Linked DNA regions of Homo sapiens: regions 1, 3 and 4 are each linked to region 2. Evidence: promoter capture Hi-C in human tissues and cell types (Jung and others, 2019). All regions are on one chromosome and are shown on one strand. The core of a region is centred on a gene start or on the middle of the fragment in contact, and the rest is flanking DNA. Distances in the headings are between cores, read along the strand shown.

Evidence for each region. The method cuts DNA at HindIII sites, captures the fragments that hold promoters and counts their contacts. A contact is called where the count stands out against the background at its distance.
Region 1: a contact is called between a fragment that was not itself captured here and the fragment with the promoter of SH3GL2 in region 2, in 3 of the 25 tissues and cell types used here (H1 embryonic stem cells, dorsolateral prefrontal cortex and mesenchymal stem cells).
Region 3: a contact is called between a fragment that was not itself captured here and the fragment with the promoter of SH3GL2 in region 2, in 3 of the 25 tissues and cell types used here (H1 embryonic stem cells, dorsolateral prefrontal cortex and thymus).
Region 4: a fragment that was not itself captured here is called in contact with the fragment with the promoter of SH3GL2 in region 2 in 2 of the 25 tissues and cell types used here (H1 embryonic stem cells and hippocampus).

Annotation. Positions count from the first base shown.
Region 1 is chr9:17,793,110-17,798,203 of GRCh38, forward strand. SH3GL2 (SH3 domain containing GRB2 like 2, endophilin A1) reads left to right here. Exons shown (of 9, transcript NM_003026.5): 8 at 258-388; 9 at 2,435-4,015. The coding sequence ends at 2,634. Among named protein-coding and RNA genes, the nearest start is that of SH3GL2, 220 kb to the left of the region's middle. The HindIII fragment of the contact is 5,161 bases long and covers 600-5,094 here.
Region 2 is chr9:17,576,045-17,581,489 of GRCh38, forward strand. SH3GL2 (SH3 domain containing GRB2 like 2, endophilin A1) reads left to right here and starts at 3,022. Exons shown (of 9, transcript NM_003026.5): 1 at 3,022-3,243. The coding sequence starts at 3,199. RefSeq lists a silencer at 1,834-2,032. The HindIII fragment of the contact is 4,711 bases long and covers 502-5,212 here.
Region 3 is chr9:17,813,564-17,819,248 of GRCh38, forward strand. No RefSeq gene overlaps it. Among named protein-coding and RNA genes, the nearest start is that of SH3GL2, 240 kb to the left of the region's middle. The HindIII fragment of the contact is 3,516 bases long and covers 810-4,325 here.
Region 4 is chr9:17,766,167-17,771,699 of GRCh38, forward strand. The region is part of intron 3 of SH3GL2 (SH3 domain containing GRB2 like 2, endophilin A1); the gene reads left to right. Among named protein-coding and RNA genes, the nearest start is that of SH3GL2, 190 kb to the left of the region's middle. The HindIII fragment of the contact is 3,552 bases long and covers 887-4,438 here.

The sequences.
Region 1 (5,094 bases), core at 1,930-4,429, 220 kb after region 2:
GACTCTGAATAAATGAGAGAGGAAGTGAGGGATTGAGAGAGAGAATGAAGACAGTGAGGACATGGCCCCATAAAGGGACATCACCAAAATCTCAGACATATACATACAAGAAAACTAAGGGTCCTTTTTTGATTTCCCACACTTCATCATGGTAGCATGGTGGGTGACCCAAGCATTTCCTGAATCTTTATATTTGCTTTTCATTTTACTTCTTAACTGGTTACATAACCTTTCCACCACTTTTCTTTTTACTGCAGAATAAGACAGGCTTCATCTCAGCCTAGAAGGGAATATCAACCTAAACCACGAATGAGCCTGGAGTTTCCAACTGGAGACAGTACTCAGCCCAATGGGGGTCTCTCCCACACAGGCACTCCCAAACCTTCAGGTAAGAGCTGAAACTGCAGATCCTATTGCATAGCCCTTGGCATATCCATTGGCACTCTTCCAGAAATTTTAGGAATAGTCCAATCTGGCTGCATAGGAAATATGCAGTAATACATTTCTTATGGAGTCAGTTGTCAGGTAGAAACTCTGTTAAAGGAATCCTTTTGTCTTTTTTTCATTTACCTTTTCTTTCCTTCCTTCTCATTCTTCTCTATAAAACTTTCTTTGTATATCCCATTTTCTCTGTCAATCATCAGCACACACGAACACATTTTGTTTTGACCCTCCTTTGTGGTCGTAAATCGCCTTTCCTTGTCAGTTTGGTCTGCGAGTGTCATCTTTTCTCCTGCGTGTTCGCTCTGAATCCAGCCTGTATGACAGTGAATGCCCCTGGACAGTGTGTCCCCACATGCATTCGCATATAACCCACAGACAGCAAGCGGCTCCAGAAATGTGCTGATGAGCTGGATTTCTTGAGTCACAGAAGCATATGGTTAAATATATTTGTAGAAGATGATATTTTGAAACTCGACACTTGCTGGGTTTTCCTTCCCATGCCTCACCTCTGATCACTTTATCATGCTGTGGCACTGGGGTTGATATAATAAAAGCTAGATGACATTTTATCTCAGGAATATCGATGCATACCAAATAGAGCATTCTTTACCTTGTCACACTTGCTCTCCACTCCTACACGCAGATTACACAACAGCCTGTGCTGGAGACATTTTCAACCTCCACATTTGCTTGTTTGAAGTGGGAACTGTCTTATACTGGATGTGGATGTTAGAGATAGGTAGCTTTCTTTTATTTTTCCTGTATCCCCAGTGCTTGATGTTCTACTGTAGAAAACTTTTTATAAGATGCTCTCAGGAGACTTATTAAGAAAAAAAGCGAGGTCTGAGCCGGCAGGTGGTGCTCTCTGTCCTTTGCGCTCAGCACTTCAGGGCATGACATAAGCAGCTGTGGCTCCTGGAGCTGGCCACCAGGACTAGTCACAGAAATTGTGTATAGCTATGCTTCTCCCTGTCTGAAAACCAACCATATATTTCACTTTTCATCTGGAGACTCAGTAATTTGCTTCTTTCTCTAAATAAAAAAATAAATTACATTGTTTCCTTTCCAGCCACCTAGATGGCATGGGAACTGTGTGCACTTGTCTGAGTCTGTATCTACATGTGTATGTATGTAGTATTAATACAGCGGGTCATTTGGAATAGATCCCTCTTAAGATATGATTTCATCCTTCATTATTTTACTCAAGGTGGAGTACATTATTTTTGTATGCCATAGCTCCAGTGCACTGCATATATTTATGTATGCAACAGTTTACCTTACCAAGTATAAATTACAAAATTTTTTACATAATCTCATTTAGTAGCCACAGTAGTAATGTGAAGTAAGTCCTACTGTTACATCCAATTTCAGACAGTGAAACTGAGAGCGAAGTACCATGTGCAAGGTCACAGAAAGTAAAAACTTGAACTCAGTGTTTTATATTATTCCGTTTTCACCACATTACAGCAGTTTTCCAGAGGCTGGGGTTATCATTTTAAAGAGTGATAACCGAACTGTTACTTAAAAGCATTCTCCATGTAATTCACCATACTTTTTCAGATATGCAAAGGTTTTAAAGTGCTCAGATGAGAGAATTCTTGCCATGCTGTGTTATTAACCTACATCATTATATTCTTCTTAAGTCATTGTCCCTCCTATTTCTGGGCATTATCACGAAGGCAAACTATAATGAACTGTGTTGTATGTATCACAAGAATAGATGTGACTGTTTTTCATACTGGAAACAGAAACAGGAATATGCAGCAACTTCCAAAGGTCCGAGAAAGCTTCTGAGGATTGGTAGAGGGCAAGATGCCCAGTGCAGTGGACACTAAGGTCCAGTAGCAAGAAGAAGCTTCAACAGGAAGAGGAATGAGGGAGGAAAGACGGGGAGCAGCAAGCCAGGTGGGTACAGCAGGCAGCAGATTCTGTGAGTTAAATACCCCTTATCCTTTTGTGTTCTTCTCTTCTCTCCTGCTCTTACTCCCAGGTGTCCAAATGGATCAGCCCTGCTGCCGAGCTCTGTACGACTTTGAACCTGAAAATGAAGGGGAGTTGGGATTTAAAGAGGGCGATATCATCACACTCACTAACCAAATTGATGAGAACTGGTATGAGGGGATGCTGCATGGCCATTCAGGCTTCTTCCCCATCAATTATGTGGAAATTCTGGTTGCCCTGCCCCATTAGGATGTTATGCTGGCTGGCTCGCCTCCTCTTGACCCAGATAGTTACGGTTAACCACTGCTTTGGCAATGCTGCTTATAACACATCCCAAGTGCAGGCCGCAGTGGTCCACGTCATCCAGCCCCACCAAGTGACTTTGGTTGACTTGTGGGCTCCCACAGGAGTCATGGTGATGGATGATATCCTCTTAGCCTGGTGGGCGTGGCATGTGCTTTTTAAAACATCATCTGAGACCAGCCAGTAGTCACAGAACTGCTGTTTACACAGTTCTCAGGAGGCTGTGGTTTCTTAGAATATGACCATGAGCCATTTCACAGAAAAACCATCCCACCGAAGATATTGTCTATCACCCCAGGGGCCATCTGAAGGTCTCTTTGCATTTCTCCATGCAAAGAGGAGAAAGCTTTTGCTTTCACACTGTCCCTTCCCAAATATGTGAGTCATGGAATTGTCAAAGTAAGCCTTCCCTCACCAGCAAATTGTCTCCTGATCTGAATGAATTTGTCTCTTAATGCATCCATAGAAAAGTGTTAATTGTGGGTTCAAAGCATTCTCTGCAAATAGGCATCTCAGCTCCTCACACTTATGGCTATTTCTGACGTATAGCCAGTTTTCTTCCCTCCTTGCTATTAAAGCCAGAGCGGTAATTCCAAATTATTTTTCAGTAAGACAGTTAATCAGCATTATTGTGAGAGGGACTGAAAAGAAATTCTCCATTATGAGGAATTGGGAAGAAATCTGGTATCCAAGCTTAAATTTCTTGCTATACAGAAACTATGTATGTATTTAGGCTATTTCTGAAGGGCACAGGGAAGGGGGAACAAATATCTTCACTTCAGTTTTATTTGTGAATTACATGTTTCATGAATCCATTTGGCACAGAGACACAAGGAAGAAAACACTAGTAACCATCTTTCCACTAGTTCATATACTGAGAAACAGTAAATACCTTTCCTTTCCACTTTTACCCTGTGTTCTTTGAACATCATTTGTGCAGATTCTGCCCTCAATGAGGACCAAATAAAGATGATTTTTGTGCTTAGCAGTTTAAGGTATATGGCTGCATATGCAAAACTCTTTCCCAATTCAGTCGCTACTTTTACTTCTGCCCTTTCTATCCATCGTCTTCATTTTGTGTGTACAGTGCTGTGTGTAAGCTTATCAGTGTGTTTTTTTATTTGTATCAGTCATGAAAGTCCTGTTAGGTATGCAGAGTTCTATTTATCTAGCTGTACAGACTCTTTCAGAGGTTTAACGTGCTGCTTCCGATGTGCCACCTGCAGTAGTGGATCATGTGGAGTGAAAGGCAAATCTTACTGCTTAATGTATAAACTCTCACCACAGGAAGCATCGCTGTTTCCAATAAATATTGCTGAAGACAGAACCAAAGGCTCTGCTCCTTCATTTTGTGTCAGTTCTTTGGGTCTAACACTGGGTGGATGGGGGCTGGTTTCAGTCTCCATTGCTTTCTCATGCAGCCAAACAAGACCTGGCTCCAACTTCATATCTACCTCTTTACACATAGGAAAAGTTTCAGCAGCAAGGAAGTAGCTAGCCTGGACATTGGGACCTTCCTGGTAACCCCAGGAAGGAGGAGAATTTGGGAGAGAAGAAAGTAAGGAGAATTAGGTCTCATAGATGTTAAATGATATATTGTTAAAAGTGGTATCATCTGAAGAATATAATGTTAGGAAGGGGAAATAAAATATATCCCTTCGAGTAGCCTCTTATTTTCTTTCGTAATTGAAGATAAAGAAATAGACATGGAAAAATAGTTTGATCGAAAGTCACTATTAGGCCAGGTGCAGTGGCTCACACCTGTAATCCCAGCACTTTGAGAGGCCAGTGCAGGTGGATCAACTGAGGTCAGGAGTTCGAGACCAGCCTGGCCAACATGGAAAAATCTCGTCTCTGCTAAAAATACAAAAATCAGCTGGGCATGGTGGTGCATGCCTGTAGTCTCAGCTACTCAGAAGACTGAGGCACGAGAATCACTTGAACCTGGGAGGCAGAGGTTGCAGTAAGCCGAGATCACGCCACAGCACTCCAGCCTAGGGTGACAGAGTAAGATGCTGCCTCCAAAAAAAAAAAAAAAAAAAAAAAAAAGGCCAGTATTATTTTCTCTTGATGTATATGTTTGGGGTGTGAGTGGGAATAGGGGAGCAGCAAGGCACACAAAATGTGTATTTTCTGAGTTCCCAGGAAAATAAACATGTTCTTTGTGTATTAGGGGCCATTTCTATTATTTTGTGCTGAGGCCAATAGTCCAGATTTTCTAATCTAACATGAATAGTTGTAATTAAATATACTAAGTTTCTGTTAGTCCATTTTCATACTGCTATGAAGAAATACCCGAGACTGGGTAATTTATAAAGGAAGAGGTTTAATGGACTCGCAGTTCCACTTGGCTGGGGAGGCCTCACAATCATGGTGGAAGGTGAAGGAGGAACAAATGTACGTCTT
Region 2 (5,445 bases), core at 1,772-4,271:
ATGTATCAGTCTGTTTTTACGCTGCTGATAAAGACATACCTGAGACTGGGCAATTTACAAAAGAAAGAAGTTTAATTGGATTCACAGTTCCACCTGGCTGGGGAGGCCTGACAATCATGGCAGAAGGTGAAAGGCACCTCTCACATGGCAGCAGACAAGAGAAGAGAGCTTGTGCAGGGAAACTCCTGTTTGTTTTTTTTTTCTTTTATTATTATATTTTAAGTTTTAGGGTACATGTGCACATTGTGCAGGTTAGTTACATATGTATACATGTGCCATGCTGGTGTGCTGCACCCATTAACTCGTCATCTAGCATTAGGTTTATCTCCCAGTGCTATCCCTCCCCCCTCCCCCCACCCCACAACAGTCCCCAGAGTGTGATGTTCCCCTTCCTGTGTCCATGTGATCTCATTGTTCAATTCCCACCTATGAGTGAGAATATGCGGTGTTTGGTTTTTTGTTCTTGCGATAGTTTACTGAGAATGATGATTTCCAATTTCATCCATGTCCCTACAAAGGACATGAACTCATCATTTTTTATGGCTGCATAGTATTCCATGGTGTATATGTGCCACATTTTCTTAATCCAGTCTATCATTGTTGGACATTTGGGTTGGTTCCAAGTCTTTGCTATTGTGAATAATGCCGCAATAAACATACGTGTGCATGTGTCTTTATAGCAGCATGATTTATAGTCCTTTGGGTATATACCCAGTAATGGGATGGCTGGGTCAAATGGTATTTCTAGTTCTAGATCCCTGAGGAATCGCCACACTGACTTCCACAATGGTTGAACTAGACACTCCTGTTTTTAAAACCATCAGATCTTGTAAGACTCATTCACTACCACGAGAACAGTGTAGGAAAGACCCACCCCCATAATTCAATCACTCCCACTGGGTTCCTCCCACGACACGTGGGAATTGTGAGAGTTACAATTCAAGATGAGATTTGGGTGGGGACACAGCCAAACCATATAAGATGAGGTGCAGAGGATGCCTGGGCGACTAAATCAATGGTTTCCAAAGGATTTAATGTAATGCCCTTAAGTAGTTTTTTTCTCCCAAGGTAGTTTCTTTGAAGTTAAGCAGCATGAGACTTCCAGGTTGGTGGATGAAGAACCAGGGAAAGATAGAAACTGCCTTTTTTATAATGTAGGGCTCAGTTAAGTATTCAAAGTTCCAAGGAGGCAATTCAGGCCCCCATTTCACACCTTTCACTGTTAGAGAGCAGAGCTCCTATCCATCCCAGGCCCTTCCACTTTGTAGATCAATTGCTCTATCTTTTGGCAGCTTCAACAAAGCCCTGTCTTATGAAAATGCTTTATTGTTCAGATCAGGGACCTGGTAGTAAAAATTAACTATAAAATACTTTTTTTTCTATTATGCAAGTAATGGGTAGCCTTTTTAAAAATTGGAAACATAGAGAAAAAAGTTTATTCCTAACAACCGGAGCCTCAGTGGATTAAAATTACTCAGGTTTCTCACTGATGCTACATGCCCATTGAACGTCAGGTGGGGACTCTGCACTGCTTTAGTCTCACTCTGGATACTGGCTGACAGACCACAGCTTTCTAGAATATTGCGGCCGAGGAAAAGAAAGCTTTGCGGCATCTCATACATCTCATATTGCTGCTGCAGAAGTGACAGTCACTTTTCCTCTTAAACCTCTAGTCAAAACTTGTAACCATGCCTCCACTTAACAAGAGGTTTGGAAAGTGCAATTCTGCCATGTAGGGAAAGGTATATGAACAGTGGTAAGGGCTACCACACTGGAGAATAGCTCCTTTCATCTGCCTCCCTTTGCAGCCTGCGTCCCTAGTCCATGCGCTCTACTGCTCCAGTGCCCACCACTGCTTGACTCTGCCTTTGTGTGTGTCAGTTCACATTATCAAGAAGGACCATGACTGGTAGCTCTACGGATGGAGGACCCTTTTGTAGCAGGTGTTCACCCTGTGCCCAAGCCGCAGTGCCTAGAAGAGTGGGGATGGGTCTGTGGCTCCTATCAGGCTGCAGGAGTTGCGGAGACAGAAAAAGTATTTCTAGGACTCCCATTTGGCCTTGCAGTCTCTACACATCCTTGGCAATTTCTCCCATCTTGGCTTCTCCTTCTTATCACTTTGGTCCACATACGGGGACAGCGTCTAAGTTCTTTCTGACCACCTCCTCAGTCCTAGAAAAACCAGACTTGGTTAAGTACCAGAGCACAGAAGGCATTTAGTGCTGCTCTGCTCCCAAGTCATCTATTAGTTTCACTTTAGCCAGCCATACCTCCTTGGTTACATATGAAGCATCTGTATATAACTTAGTATCATGCTTTTTCACATTATATTTTGATTTTTATCGGACCGGAAACCCTAAATCCACAAGCATAACAACAAGATCACATTTGGGCTTTTTCATTTCTGTAACCAGAGGATTGAACGCTAGTTTTGTAGTAAGACTTCAATTCTATTTATCCGTCCAGGCTTAAGGGTTCCTGTTCTTCTTTTTAAGTCATTAAATTGTATCAGACAAGGGGGAAAACGCGTGTGTGACTTTCCCTAAGGTAAGATGGGCTTAAGGGATATTGAAACCAGGGCAGAGAAATGTTTTCTGTGACCCACCAGTCAGGGCAAGGCATAGAAGGAGCAATGACTTATTCATTAGCCCAGATAGAAGGCCAGTCTTTTTCAGGCTGCGGCGCAGAGACGCCAGGCTCAAAGGGCAGGAGGGCCGTCTGCAGGCAGCGCCGCCGCGGCTACCTGGAAGCCCAGCAAGTCACCTGAGTCCTGCGGGTGCCTGGGCTGCCAATCTGCAGCGACCCGTCCGCAGCCCCCGGGGGCAGGAACACCAACCCCGGGACAGGAGGACGTCCTCGGCCCGCTGACTAGGGATCCGCCAGCGGGTGCCGCTGAGCCACATCCCCGCAGTTGGCGCCAGCATCCAGGTACCGCGCGCCACAGCACCTGCCTGGGCGTTCCCGCGCTTGGGGCGGGGCTTCCCGCGTCCCCTTTAAGAGGCCGCATCACCCGCCCTTGACGTCAGAGTGTTTCTCCGCAAGAGCCCGTGTCCCGCTAGGCTCCGCGCCCTCGCGCCCATAGCCCCGGCGGCGGCACGACCAGAGGCGGCCAGGGGAGCGCGCCGCCCCGCTCGGCCCTCCAGTCCCCCTCCGCCTCCTCCCTCCCGCACAGCAGCCGCCAGCGCGGCCTCCTGCACCATGTCGGTGGCCGGCCTCAAGAAGCAGTTCCATAAAGCCACTCAGGTAAGGCGCGCGGCAGGTGCGTCCCGGGGCAGTCCGGGGCGAAGCTGCGAGGGGCGCGCTCGGCGCTGGCCGTCCGGCGGCAGCTTGGGGAGTTCGGCACCGAGCCTCGCCCGCGCCGGCCGCGCCCCGCCTCGCAAGCCAAGGCGGCGGCTCGGGGCATCCCCGGTCTGGGCGTCCACCCTCGGTCCCCCGCCCCCGGCTTGGTGCGCGCTGCCTTCCCGCGGGTCCCCGGCGTCCTGCCTGGTAGCGCTGCTCGCCGCCCCCGCATCATCTCGCGCCCGTGCTGCAGGAAGGGGACCGCGGCTGCACTGCTGCCGCGGCGCGCAGGTGCCTTGGCGGCGCGGTGGGAGATTATGTAAAGTCGCCTCTTCACGGGTGACCTTGCGGAGTCGGTGCACCCGGCTTTCCCGGGATGTGTTGGCATGAGCGGTGGCCGCACTGGGGGTGGCGGGGCGGAGGCCGGCGGTTTGCGCTCCTCTCCCTTACCCTGTTGTCAGAACCCTCCTTCCCCGCCGCCCGCAGGCTCCAGGGGAATGGAAGGCTGGGGTCTTCCTTTAGGGACCCGCATACATTAACTTTTACCTGGAGAACTCGGTCGTGAAACTCCTTTGAGGCCAGGGCATGACAAACAGTCTGCGGGTCTTAAATATTTCCCTAAAACAACCAAATTGTTGAAGACTTAAAATCATCATGTATTTTAAATTGTTTTTAATAAATCTTTGGCATCTTGGATGTGCCCATTTTTCTTTATGGGGTTAATAAGCTGTGACTGTAATAAAACTGATTAATTTAGATTCTAATAATTAAAATCATTGGACTCAAAGAATTTTACATAGGGGCAAGTAAGCGAATACTTACGCTGTGACCTATTTCTTACATAATGTGTGTGATTACTACTTTTTTATCCTTCTGAAATAGGTTCAAATTTATGGGATCTTTAAGGATTTTGATGACTTACCGCGAAATGTTTTTCATGATTTGGTGTTAAATAGTTTTTCATAGGTTAGCCTTAATTAACGAGCTTTCTCATAATTTCTCGGAAGTAGTGAGGTTTTTCCTAGGCTACCACAGTGGCAGCCTTGTTATGAACCACATCCAGAAAAGGTGAGGGTTGTGTTTTACAGAACCTTGGTTAACTTAGGGTGACAGATGCAGCATGTAATTCCCGTCGTGTGTGTGTTTGCACGCATCTGCATCATCTTCATCACACATTCTTGCCTTTATAGAATCAATTATACCTGTCAACTTAGGAAATCAAGAAAAGTAAGACTATTTCTGTAAAAATGTTTCTTAATGTAATTATTTTTGCTTTTCTATTATAATTGGAGTTATCTGTGACCTCTCTGCCAGACATGTTTATGAAAGTAAGTGATTTGTTTGTTGATGTAGTTTGGAAGGCTTCTAATAACTTTATACTGCAAGTTCTTTCAGGTTTACAGAACCAAGCATATGTGCTGCCCAGGAATTCTGTGGCAGGACTTCTTCGATATTACTAACCTTTTTGATTGCTCTACTGGTCACTTCTCTATAGCATATCTCAGCACTGCGTTTACCAACACATCTTTTTTCCACTTGGATTCTAAAGATTTCTTTTGCAAAGCTTAGTGCCCTCAAAGGCAATTAAGAGTCTTGGCTTTGGAGTGGGAAAGGCTAAGGTTTGAATCCTGCCTCTGCTGCTTCTGACCTTGAGAGAGTATTTAACTTCTGAACCTGTCCATGCTGAAGTGATGATAATTTCCGTTGTCTCTTCAGGGTTGAGGTGAAGAGAAACGAGTGTGTAGAACACACGTATAAAGTGTTCAATAAATTATAGTTATTGACATAAAGGATATTTTTATTAGTATAAAATACTATCCCTTATGCTGTGAAGAAGTTACCCAAGCTAGACCTTTTAGTTTTTCCAACTTAAAAAATAGAGCGCTCCATTTCCGCTAAATCTTGAAGTTCTGTGTCGCCCTAAAGTGTAGAAAAAATAATTTAAACTGCGTTAGGAAAGAACTTAAAAGGTTGGAGAAGGTCGGCATGTGATGCGATACGGTTAATGTTTATCACACCGAATCCAAATGCAGAATCACTGCGTCATTGTCTTCCTTTTACTGAAAAGCCTTTTATTTGAAAGGTGAAGCAGCACGTAGTCTCTTATCCATAATTTAGTGTAGCACACTCTTAGAAAGTCTAAGGCACAGGTGACTGTTCTGTGCA
Region 3 (5,685 bases), core at 1,318-3,817, 240 kb after region 2:
TGTGCAGCAATTCATAATGAAAAAGCCTGTCCTGGCCAGGCATGGTGGCTCACGTCTGTAATCCTAGAACTTTAGGAGGCTGAGGAAGGCAGATTTCCCGAGCTCAGGAGTTCAAGACCAGCCTGGGCAACACGGTGAAACCCCGTCTCTACTAAAAATACAAAAAATTAGCCGGGCGTGGTGGCATGCACCTGTAGTCCCAGCTACTTGGGAGGCTGAGGCAGGAAAATTGCTTGAACCTGGGAGGCAGAGGTTGCAGTGAGCCGAGATCATGCCACTGTACTCCAGCCTGGGTGACAGAGCGAGACACTGTCTCCAAAAGAAAAAAGAAAAAAAAAAGGAAAAGCTTGTCCTTCAGTGTTCCTGAGTCTCTCACCTTCTCTGCTGCTCCCTGCCTGTTTTGGGTCCCCTCCTCCTATCTTCCTTATTTCCACAAGAGCCTCCTAATTGCAGTCCCTGCACCCGCCACCTGTCTTACCCAGTCCTTCTTTTTTAGAAACTCCTGTTGTGATCTTTTGAAATCGTAGGTTTGATAACATCACTGTTCTTCTCCAAAATTTTGCCCCTATTGTGTACAGAATAAAGCCTGAACATTAAAGTCCTTCATCATCTGGGCCCAATTGCCTTTTAAATTTGCATCTTCTCCCATCCCATCTTTCAACCCTCTGTTCTATGGACAATATACACCCTCAGGATTCCTTTAGTACCAATGTGAATTCAAGGCTTTGCTCTTCTCTGTGCTGTTGCTTCTGTTTGGAATGCTCTTTCTTTTTTCCCTAGGAAACTCCTTACAGATCCTCCAATGCTCAGCTCAAAGCACCTCCTCTGTAAGATCTTATACCACTTCCCCATGTCATTTCCTCTCTATGAGGTCATAGCAGTTTCTAAAACTTCACATGCCATTATCCTAAGCAAATTAAGGCAGAACAGAAATAGATACTGTATTTTCCTACTTGTGAGTGGGAGCTAAATACTCGGTATGCAGGGACACAGAGATGGGAACAATAGGCACTGGGTATTCTGAAAAGGAAGAGGGAGGCAGGCAAGGGTTGAAGAACTACCTAATGGATACCTCATTTACTACTTGGGCAACAGCAACAGGATCATTAGAAGCCCAAACCTCAGCATCTTGCAATACACCCATGTAACAAACCTGCCTTTACCCTCTGAATCTAAAAACAAAACAAAATATCATGTGCGTCTATTATAGTGCAGAAGCTAATAACTAAAGCTGTTATTAAGGGATTTCTATGTGTCAGGGACTCCTTTAAGCTTTTTCTATGTATAATAATATGAATCTATGTCTTCCACTCGAGACTACTTGAGGATCAAGTTTTGCTTACATTCTGTAATGTTTCAGGGCTTAGTAATATACCAGAGGTATAATTCATGCTTATGCATTGTCCACTGAGTAAAGACCCAAAGATTTTGTTTTTGCCTTTGCTGGTTCTCAAGCACCTCCTGATGGTTGTTAGAATTCCCATAAGAATTCTGAGAAGACTTAAAAAAAAAGTCCTTTTTCACTAAGATGAAGTTTGGGGATGCCTCACTTTATAAACCATGGGCTATGCCTCAATTCACCACAGAGGATAAATCAAATTACCTCCTCTCCTATCAAGAGCACTTCTCATTTCTGACATTAATCGTAGATGTAACATGTTTTAGATAATAAGATGAAATGTAATTAATTTGCTCTACATGTTGTAAAGTTCTATTCACATATGTGCTAAATAAAGAACTCAGATTTGTCTTACCTTTCCCTTCTCCCTTGTGCAATTTAATGGTTTAGGAGTTCTGGTATAAAAATAAAGAGCAAGTGGAACATTTTCCCTTCACTCTGAAAAGTTTCAAGGGTCACTAGGAATTTCTATACACTCTGAATTAAGAAAACTACAAATATAAGAAACTGTATGGGTTCAGCTTTGTTCTGATGCTGCTTTGGACTCAGAAGGGTGGAACATCTGCAAACACCTGCTTGGTCCTATATCTGCAGGGGGAAGAGGCTAATCTAAATGCTACCATGGGAGCTCAGGGGTGTAAAAGAATGCTCTTTTCATGAGAGAAAGAGTGAAAAAAAATGTAGGCAGTTAGATGATTGATTGATAGATAAGTGTACAGTCAGACCCTTTGATACCTGGATTAAGACTCTTACACAATATCGGGGGGGAACCACAGTTAATGCCTGCTTCTGACTGAAGTCCTCTGAACAGGCAGAGACATCCTCCTGACAACCAGGATGGCATAATCTAGTTCAGGATCTGGGGAAAAGCTATTTTGAATGTAAAACTGGGTACAGGTGGTACCATTCCAGTGTCTTACGTGAAGATCCCAGGAAAGTTGGACCTAAGTTTTCCTCAAGAGGGCAGACTAAAATACAACCAGGGGCATATGCCGGTCCTGCAGCCTAATAAATAGCCCCAAAGACTGGTGTAAAAAGAAGGCTTTTCCATCAACTACAGAAGAGGAAAATAGTGGTGGACAAAAATCAGCAGCAGCTACCAAAGGAAGCTCCCAGTGGGCAAGCAAAAAAAAAAAAAAAAAAAAAAAAAAAGACATCTGTGGAGCCAGGAGCACTTCATTGACCACTTTGAGGAAAGTGAGACCTGACGTGGGATGAGAGAGGTGTCTAAGGGAAACCGGAGTTGGGTTTCTTATTTAAGGATTAAGGAAGCATAGGAAATGTGGAAAAGCACAAAACCACTAAAAAACTTCTCCATGAGTGTGTGCTGCCCAGCCATTTTGCCTAGATTGGTCATACTGACTGATCTGGGGTGGGGTGTGTGTGTGTGTGTGTGTGTGTGTGTGTGTGTGTGTGTGTGTGTGTGTGCGCGCGCGCACGCACGTATACATTGGGAGACGGTATTACGGTATAGCAGAAGCATTTTCTTTATGGTGGTTGCTGTGTTGTACTATGGTTTGTTGTTTGGTGTTTCTCTCTCTTGCCAGATTGTGAACTAGGTGGGAGAAAGCAGCATGCATCATTCCTTGTTGTACTGCTAGAACCTAACTCAGAACGTGGACTGCTGATTTATCCATAAATCTTGGTGAATGAACTAATTTATGAATGAATCAGTGGATAAATGGATCAAGCTGTGGTTTGGCTTTCTTTCACTGAAGGCTGACTCCATATGCTTCCATATGCTGCTTTCTAAAAAATATTTCAGTCATCTCTGAGAAAGTTTACCACTAGCATAATCTGCATTTTAAAGGTGGAGGACTAAGAATATTTTCTTATCTATGCAGGCATGGCTGGAAAGAACAGATTCATGGTTAACAGTCTCTTTCAGTGGGTGTGAGACAAAGACTTGTGCCTCCAAATGCACTCTGCAGATTCAGCCCAGCCTCCCAGAGCTCTAATAAAGGGCCAAAGCACCATTGTCCTCTAATTCAACTCTTTCATCCAATAGTTAACATGATTTTCAGGCTGTGGGAATAGGTAGGCCAAAGGCAGCATGAAGGAATGCATGTTCAGGAAACATGCAACAATTTATTGTGTGGAATCATGGGCATCTATATGAAATTCAGTACAGAACAAGCAGGTTACCAGTGTGTTATTTTGTTTATTCTGCTTTGTTTTATTTTAAACTTATATTCATCATCATCATCACCATTGAAACGCTCGTAATAGCAACTTAAGTTTCAAATAAGCAAACCCCAAAACAAGCAAACTCATAAGAGTATTCAAGAACAGAAAGCTGATGGAGATAGTTTCCACACTCAGGCCCAGTCTCCGTATGGATGGAAACCAAAGGAAGAGAGCTTGGGAGAAATGTCTTTTCATGATGAGCATCCTTGTATTTCCTGAGTAACTTGCAGATAACTTACGGCTACAGATGGGCTGTGGAGAGTTCCTGAATGGGACCTCTGTTGGCAAAAACAAAAATATAAAAACCTTATTTCTAGGATAGTTATAAATTAGTTAACAAGCGTTTTTGATTCCAAAATAATGAAAACATTTTATCATGCTTCAGTTATTTTAGCATGTGCTACAGTGAAATTGTCTTGGTCCACAGCTGTTTTTCAGCTCTTTACAGTTACTCTACTATACCAAGTTGCTCTGAAAGTAACTATGTTTAAGTGATTTAATTATGATGCTTAAGGTTTCTATGTGTTTTCAAGTCTTTAACATCTAAGCTTTTAGGAAACACTGTGGGACTTGCATCTTGTGGAGAAAGATTTATAGGTGATTAGGGTACCCAGGAACTTCAGACCCCATCTTGCCCCAGCTCTGATCCCCCTGAAACTGAGACAGGAGAGGATAAGGATGGGTAAAGGGCCTGCTGGGGCCTAACCCAGTGTCTGGCTTAGCCAGCTTCCATGGACTCTGAGAGTCTCTCTCCCCTGGAGTGCAGTAGCCTAAGGTCTGGTTCCATAGCAAAAGGAAAGACTTCCTGGACTCTGTTTACCCAGGCCCACACTGAAATCTCAGGTCTCTGAAGTTTACCCTTCAGAGGGAAGAGGAGAAAATCCAAGGAAAGGTATTCCATGAAAGAGAAAGGGCTGAATGATGCAGAAGCTTTATAAGCAAGAGATCCTCATTCACCTGAAGAAGCCTGTTGAGTCAGCTCACCATCTAAGAAGTCCCCAGTGCTGCCAGAGTGGTGGGAGCTAACAGAGACAAAAAAAGAGGAAAAATATGCCACCAGAAAATAAGCAGGAAAGAATTCTGCCTTCATCTGACTTTTTCATAAACACGGTGTTGTTCCTGAACTTACATTCTTGTAAATAAGAGAAAGAATTTATATCATCTAATCAATTATTACCATAGTTGGTGTTGTATTCATAATGCACTGGGTATAGTTTTTTATGAAATATGCTTTATAGGAATAAATTATGTGGAAACAGCCAAATGTTGTTGCACAGTTATTGAATCAGTCAGCATGTATTAAACTTGTTTTAACCTGTGGCTACCCAAACCTGGCTAATCATTGCAAACACCTGGAGAGCTTTCTGGTTGGCCGTTAGAAATCTGTAATTTCCAAAGTTACCAGGTCTTTCTGATGGTCAGCCAGATTTGAGAACTGCATCATGCCATGTTGTGCCTTTCTCCATGTTCACCTTCTGTATCCCAACTCTTCTTTAGGCCCATTCTCTAAATACCTGATCAAGCGAAGTACTCTCTGTTTTCTGATCACTTATAGAATACATGTATTACCTTTTATTCTTAGTCATCTTTTGAAGTTTATAAATCTGGTTTCCTACTTGTGAGTGAGAATATGCAGTTTGGTTTTCTGTTCTTGTGTTAGTTTGCTGGGAATGATGGTTTCCAGCTTCATCCATGTCCCTGCAAAGGACATCAACTCATCCTTTTTTATGGCTGCATAGTATTCCATGGTGTATAGGTGCCACATTTTCCTTATCCAGTCTATCATTGATGGGCGTTTGGGTTGGCTCCAAGCCTTTGCTATTGTGAGCAGTGCTGCAAATATACATATGTGTGCATGTGCCTTTATAGTAGAATGATTTATAATCCTTTGGGTATATACCCAGTAATGGGATTGCTGGATCAAATGGTATTTCTGGTTCTAGGTCCTTGAGGAATCTCCACACTGTCTTCCACAATGGTCGAACAATGAGAACACATGGACACAGGGAGGGGAACATCACACACCAGGGCCTGCCGGTGGGTGGGGAACTAGGAGAGGGATAGCATTAGGAGAAATACCTAATGTAGATGACAGGTTG
Region 4 (5,533 bases), core at 1,413-3,912, 190 kb after region 2:
AGCTAATTCCTCCTGGAAAATCCAGCTAACTGATGAGATGTGGAAGTGTGAGCGGGATCACAGGCTTAAACGTCTGCCCTGTGAGGGTGGGCTTTCGAGAACGCAGGACAGACAGCTGTAAAGTCATCCAAGCTTGAACTGCAATAGCATGAACCAGTACACATTCCTAAAATGCTTAAATAAGATATAATTTGAATATAGAAAGTACTGTGCACAAATTCCATTCTACTGGTTGTAAGTGCCTATTCTTACGATATTTGTGAGCAAAAATCACTGAAGAAGATATAACTCAGTTTTCTTTACATATTCTGATGCCTTACGGGGGAGCAAAAACTGAATCGATGTTGTCCAATAGAAATAGGATGCAAGCCACATATGTAATTTTGAATTTTCTAGAAACCACATTATACAAGTAAAGAGAAAGATGAAATTGTCTTTAATAATATATTTTATTTAACCCATTATAGCCAAAATATTAACCACTATTAAAAATTATTGAGATATTCTATGTTTTTTTTCATACTCTGGATTTCGGTCTGTATTTTATACTTACAGCACATTTCAATTTGGACTAGCCACATTTCAGGTGCTCAGCAGCCCGCTGTGGCCAGTGGTGCCCGTAATAGACGGTACAGCACTAGATAGTTTGCCTTTCTGTTCGATATATGTTTCATGTTTACCTCCTTGGTTTTATGTTTTATCAGTGGGTTTTTCTTTTCAATAGAGAAATGGATTCTTGATTTAGAATTAGGATATATTTAGGCTCTGGATTTTTTAAAAAAAATTCTGAAAGTCTGTTTCATGACACTTGAATGGAATTGTAGACAGTTGGACTGTGGACCTTTTCCAGACTTAGCATCCTTGTTATGAGAGAGGCCTTTTCAGTTTGCACTGAGAAGTTACTCTTACCCTGATGTGATAATCTAATACAAATTTCCAAACTGCTTACATAAAAAGCAGCTTGAATGTGAAAAATGTTGTACACAGTAGGGGTTTGTTTCTCTATGGAAATGCTTTTCCCTTGAATGCCTATATGGTCTAGATTTTTCCAGCATTTCTGAGATTTGGGTATCAAATTGGGGTCATTCGATGTCTATTTAGAATTTTTTAATAATTTCAAATCTCATTTGTGAAATATTGCCTGTGGAAATAAAAGCTAGCTGTATTAGTTTCAAAATGTACCATTAGTCCCTGGAAAGATACTCTATTAAAATTAGTGTACTTCTTTTCCCACAGGCTGTGCTCTTAATCATGTCCTTCCAAAGATGAATAAATACAGTGATTATATTTGGTGACTGTGGAACTGAAAATGAATACATGTATTACTTGGCATTCATGTAGACAAATCCTTGGTCTCACAACACACTGAATTTACTGTTTTTTCCTGGAGGACAGGATAGCTTGTATTCATCTTTGCATCTTTTAGAGTCCTTAGCATTATGCCTGGTACATTGTTTGCTCTCAGTATGTCTGGTGAATAGGTGTATGAATGAATATATCCATCCTTCACTTAAAGAATAAGGGATGTGTGCTGAGTCTAGTAGCCAGAGCTTTTCCATTTCCACATCCTGGCAATGAAAAATAATCAAAATGCATAAAGGACAGATTACAAAAGCAGTTGTGAGGAAAATGTTGTTAAGCTTCAAAGGAATAGGGTATTTCAAGGATAAATATATTAAGAAAGAAAACTTAAGTCAGGTGATGGGTGATATAATTCATATACTAATGTATTGAAAGGCTGGAGGGTTTCTACTTCTACATCTTTGGGGAAAATATTGAAAATAGGTTCCTGAAATATGTGAGACACTGTAAGTGATTTAGACTTTTAAGTCAGCTAGAACTGGTGGAATAATGATATTCTTTACTTGTGTGTCTAAACAATGAATGCTAAAGCCAGATCTTGCTTAAAAGATTCTTAATCAGGGCTGGGCACAGTAGCTCACGCCTATAATCCCAGCACTTTGGGAGGCCGAGGTGGGCGGATCACGAGATCAGGGGATAGAGACCATCCTGGCTAACACAGTGAAACTCTGTCTCTACTAAAAATACAAAAAAGTAGCTGCTGTTGGTGGTGGGCACCTGTAATCCCAGCTACTTGGGAGGCTGAGGCAGGAGAATGGCATGAACCTGGGAGGCGGAGCTTGCAGTGAGCCAGGATCATGCCACTGCACTGCAGCCTGGGCGACAGAGCGGGACTCTGTCTCAAAAAAAAAAAAAAAAAAAAACACCAGATTCTTAATCATAACAAATATAGTATACATTTAAAATGCATGTGTACATGTATATTGAGAATTAAGTTAATGGCACCTCACGTGAATAGTCCCTAAATACTATAAATAAATACCATACCTAAATCCTCAGCATGGCCTTTAAGATCCAGCATGTGGTGGCCCCTGTGCTTTCTGTCTCTCCTAGTTCCTTCTCCCTCTTGTTCACTCTGTGGCCTTTAGTTTCTTCAATTCCTCAAGTTCTTTGCTGTATCAGGAGTTTGTAGCGGCTGTTTCCCCTTCTCCTGGTAGAATATGGGCCCTCATCTGCCCCTTCTTCGACAACTGTCTTCTCACCATCCCTCCTGTCTCAGCTTATGTATCTCGACTCTGAGTGGTGTCTTCTGAGGGCCAAGTCGAAATCATTTCTACTCCAGTTTTATATTTTCATGCTACCTTTATATCACATGAGTTCCCCTCAACAAATCTCTTGAGAAGTTCCTCACTTAGAATAAAATTGAAAGCACTTATGTGGGTTACAAAGTCCTGAGGATCTGAGCTCATTCCTTATGTTCCTGGCTGTCTCCATCTCGCTCCTTCTGAGCTAGCCTTCCTCAAACACACAGGCACTATTGTTCATGGGGCCTGGCCAGCCCCTTTGCTTCAATCACTTCCTCTCCATGTCTTCTCAAAGCCTTCGCTGGGGTCTCTGCTCAAATGTCACCTAATTTGTGCAGCTTTCCTGACCATCTTGTTTAAAACATCAGCCCTTCTAACTTCCTAAGCCTTTTCTTGTTTTACTTTTCTTCAGAGCATTTAGCACCACTTCAGATGTACATTTACTTGTTAAAGTGTTGCTTGTCACTGCTACCGAAATGCAGTGACGCAGTGACTTGAGCACAGGATTGTTTGTACACTGCAAAGAGCCCAATTCTATTCTTTTATTGCACTTTTCATAATATTTACTTTATGCAACTTATGATTTGTTCACTATACTGCCTTTTTCCATTATTACTCTCCTATTTTACATTCTTCACATAGCAGCCAGTTCCATCCATTAAAGATGTAATTCACATCTTGTCACTCCTCTGCTTGTAACTCTCCACTGGCTTCCATTGCACTGAGAATTATCCTCAGACTTGTTCCTGCCTCGGGGTCTTTGCACAGGTGTTTCTTCTGCCTGGAACACTCTTCTCCAGCTCCTGTTAATGTCTGCTGCTCCTCATCACTCCACCTTCAGTCAGATGCCGTCTCCCTGTACAGTCCTTTCCTGCCCCGACCCCTATTGAAAATAGTTTCTCCTCATCCCTCTCATACCTCCTTATATTATTTCCTATCAACATTTGGAATTATCTTCTAATTTATCTTTTTGTTTATTGTTTTCACATCACTCCCATTTCTCATATAGAACGTAATCTCCAGAAGGGTAGAATCTTGTCTGTCTTATTTACTATTCGTAATAATGGAAGTAGTGCCCTCAGTAAATATTTATTGAATGAATGCTGTTCATCTCTTCCAGTATATTGTAAACATAGTCATTGAAGACAAGGACTATGTCTCTTTTACTCCTTTATATATACCCAGTTCCTAGCACAGAGTTTGGTGCTAGCGATTGATTAATTTGCTTAATGAATGAATCAAATCATGTGAAGCATACATAAGCTCCATCTTACGGGAGTAGCTAACTTTTCAGGTAAGTGTCGTGGTCTGCAGACTTTTACAGATCAGTATCAGAGCTGTTCTCTGTGTAATATCTATTTGGTGTCATGTACAATTAGTATATTTCACAATTGCTTTGGGAAAAGTGTGGATGTGCATACTGTCATGTATAAAATCACTGGGCTGAAGCTATTAATAGACATTTGTGTTTATATACATAGATAATAGTTGTATCTATTTTTGAATGAGAAAACTGAAGCTGCAAGGTGATTAGCAATTTGCCCGAACTATACAACAGAACAGCCAGAATCTTTATTCAGATATTACTATCTCCAAGGCACATTCTGTTTTCAAAAAAAAATGTCTTATGCTACAAAGTCTTAAACTACAAAGATACCTCCAGGCTTGGTAAGTGTGGCAAGTGTACTCTAGGGTGACTTGTACAGGTTCACACCCTTATATAATCCCTTCCCGTTGGGTGTAGATGGAACCTGTGACTTGCTGCTAACCAATAAATATGGCAAAGGTAATGGAATCAACTACTCACCACTCCCTTGATAGTGATTACATTATATGGCCAAATCGATGGTGCATCACTCCCATGACCAAGTCACATTATGTGAGACAGTCTTAGCAGACTAATACGAGAGACATTCCCTTCCTTGTCTAGAAGAAGCACACTGCCATGTTATGACAGCCCAAGGAGAGGACCACATGTCAAGGAACTGGGGGTAGTCTCTAGAACCTAAGGGTGGCCACTGGCCAACAGCCAGCGGGAAGCCAGAGCTCTCAATCACACTGCCACAGAGAAGTGAACAGCCCGGACTCAGGAAGACAGCAACCCACGTGAGCCTGGATGCAGACTTCTCCCCTCTCTGGCCTCCACATGGCAAAGCAGTCTGACTCTACATTGTTTGCAGCCTGGCGAGACCCTGAGCATAGGACTCAATTTAGGCATGCCCAGACTTACTTGCAGAAACTGTGAGGTAATGTGTGTTGTTTGAAGCCACTGAGTTTGTGGTACTTTGTTATTCTATGTAGAAAACTAATACAGTGTGGCTGTTCCCAGCCAGAGCTCCTATTTCAAGCATACAACTGTCTGCTGGGGCCATCAGGCTATTTGCCCTGTGGCTTTAGGCTCCTTGGATACCTTACATTGAAGTAGGAGGTAGATTGGGAACACCTGTCACTGTCTTTTCAGCTTAAGATGAGGTCTCCTGAACCCCCCAGGGAGTATAGGTCAGTCCAGTTCCACCAAAGACTGAAGATATCTTTGTGTTTTGAAACATGATAGCAAAGAACACTTGGCACAGTGCCTGACACTTAGTAGGGACTCAAGAAATATTATGCACCTTCCTTTCCTGGGGTACTGCAGCTCAACCTAGGGCATCTCAGATGCTAACCCAGCAGTTCCTCCCTGGGCAAGGTCTTTAGAAATCCCACTGCAGGACCCTTCTTACAATAAGGATATATTATTTACCACCACCCTCTATTTGCTCTGAAAACCTGAGAAAGCAAAGGCTGATGATGTTAGTACACTGAGGGTTGTGTATTTTTCAGATTTCACAAACTGTTTTATGCCCCTGAGGGGGACAGTTGCCTGCTTTGCCAGGGCACTCTGTGAGACCTGTGTTGGCACCTTGCAGCACCCAATCTTGAGGTGGGAG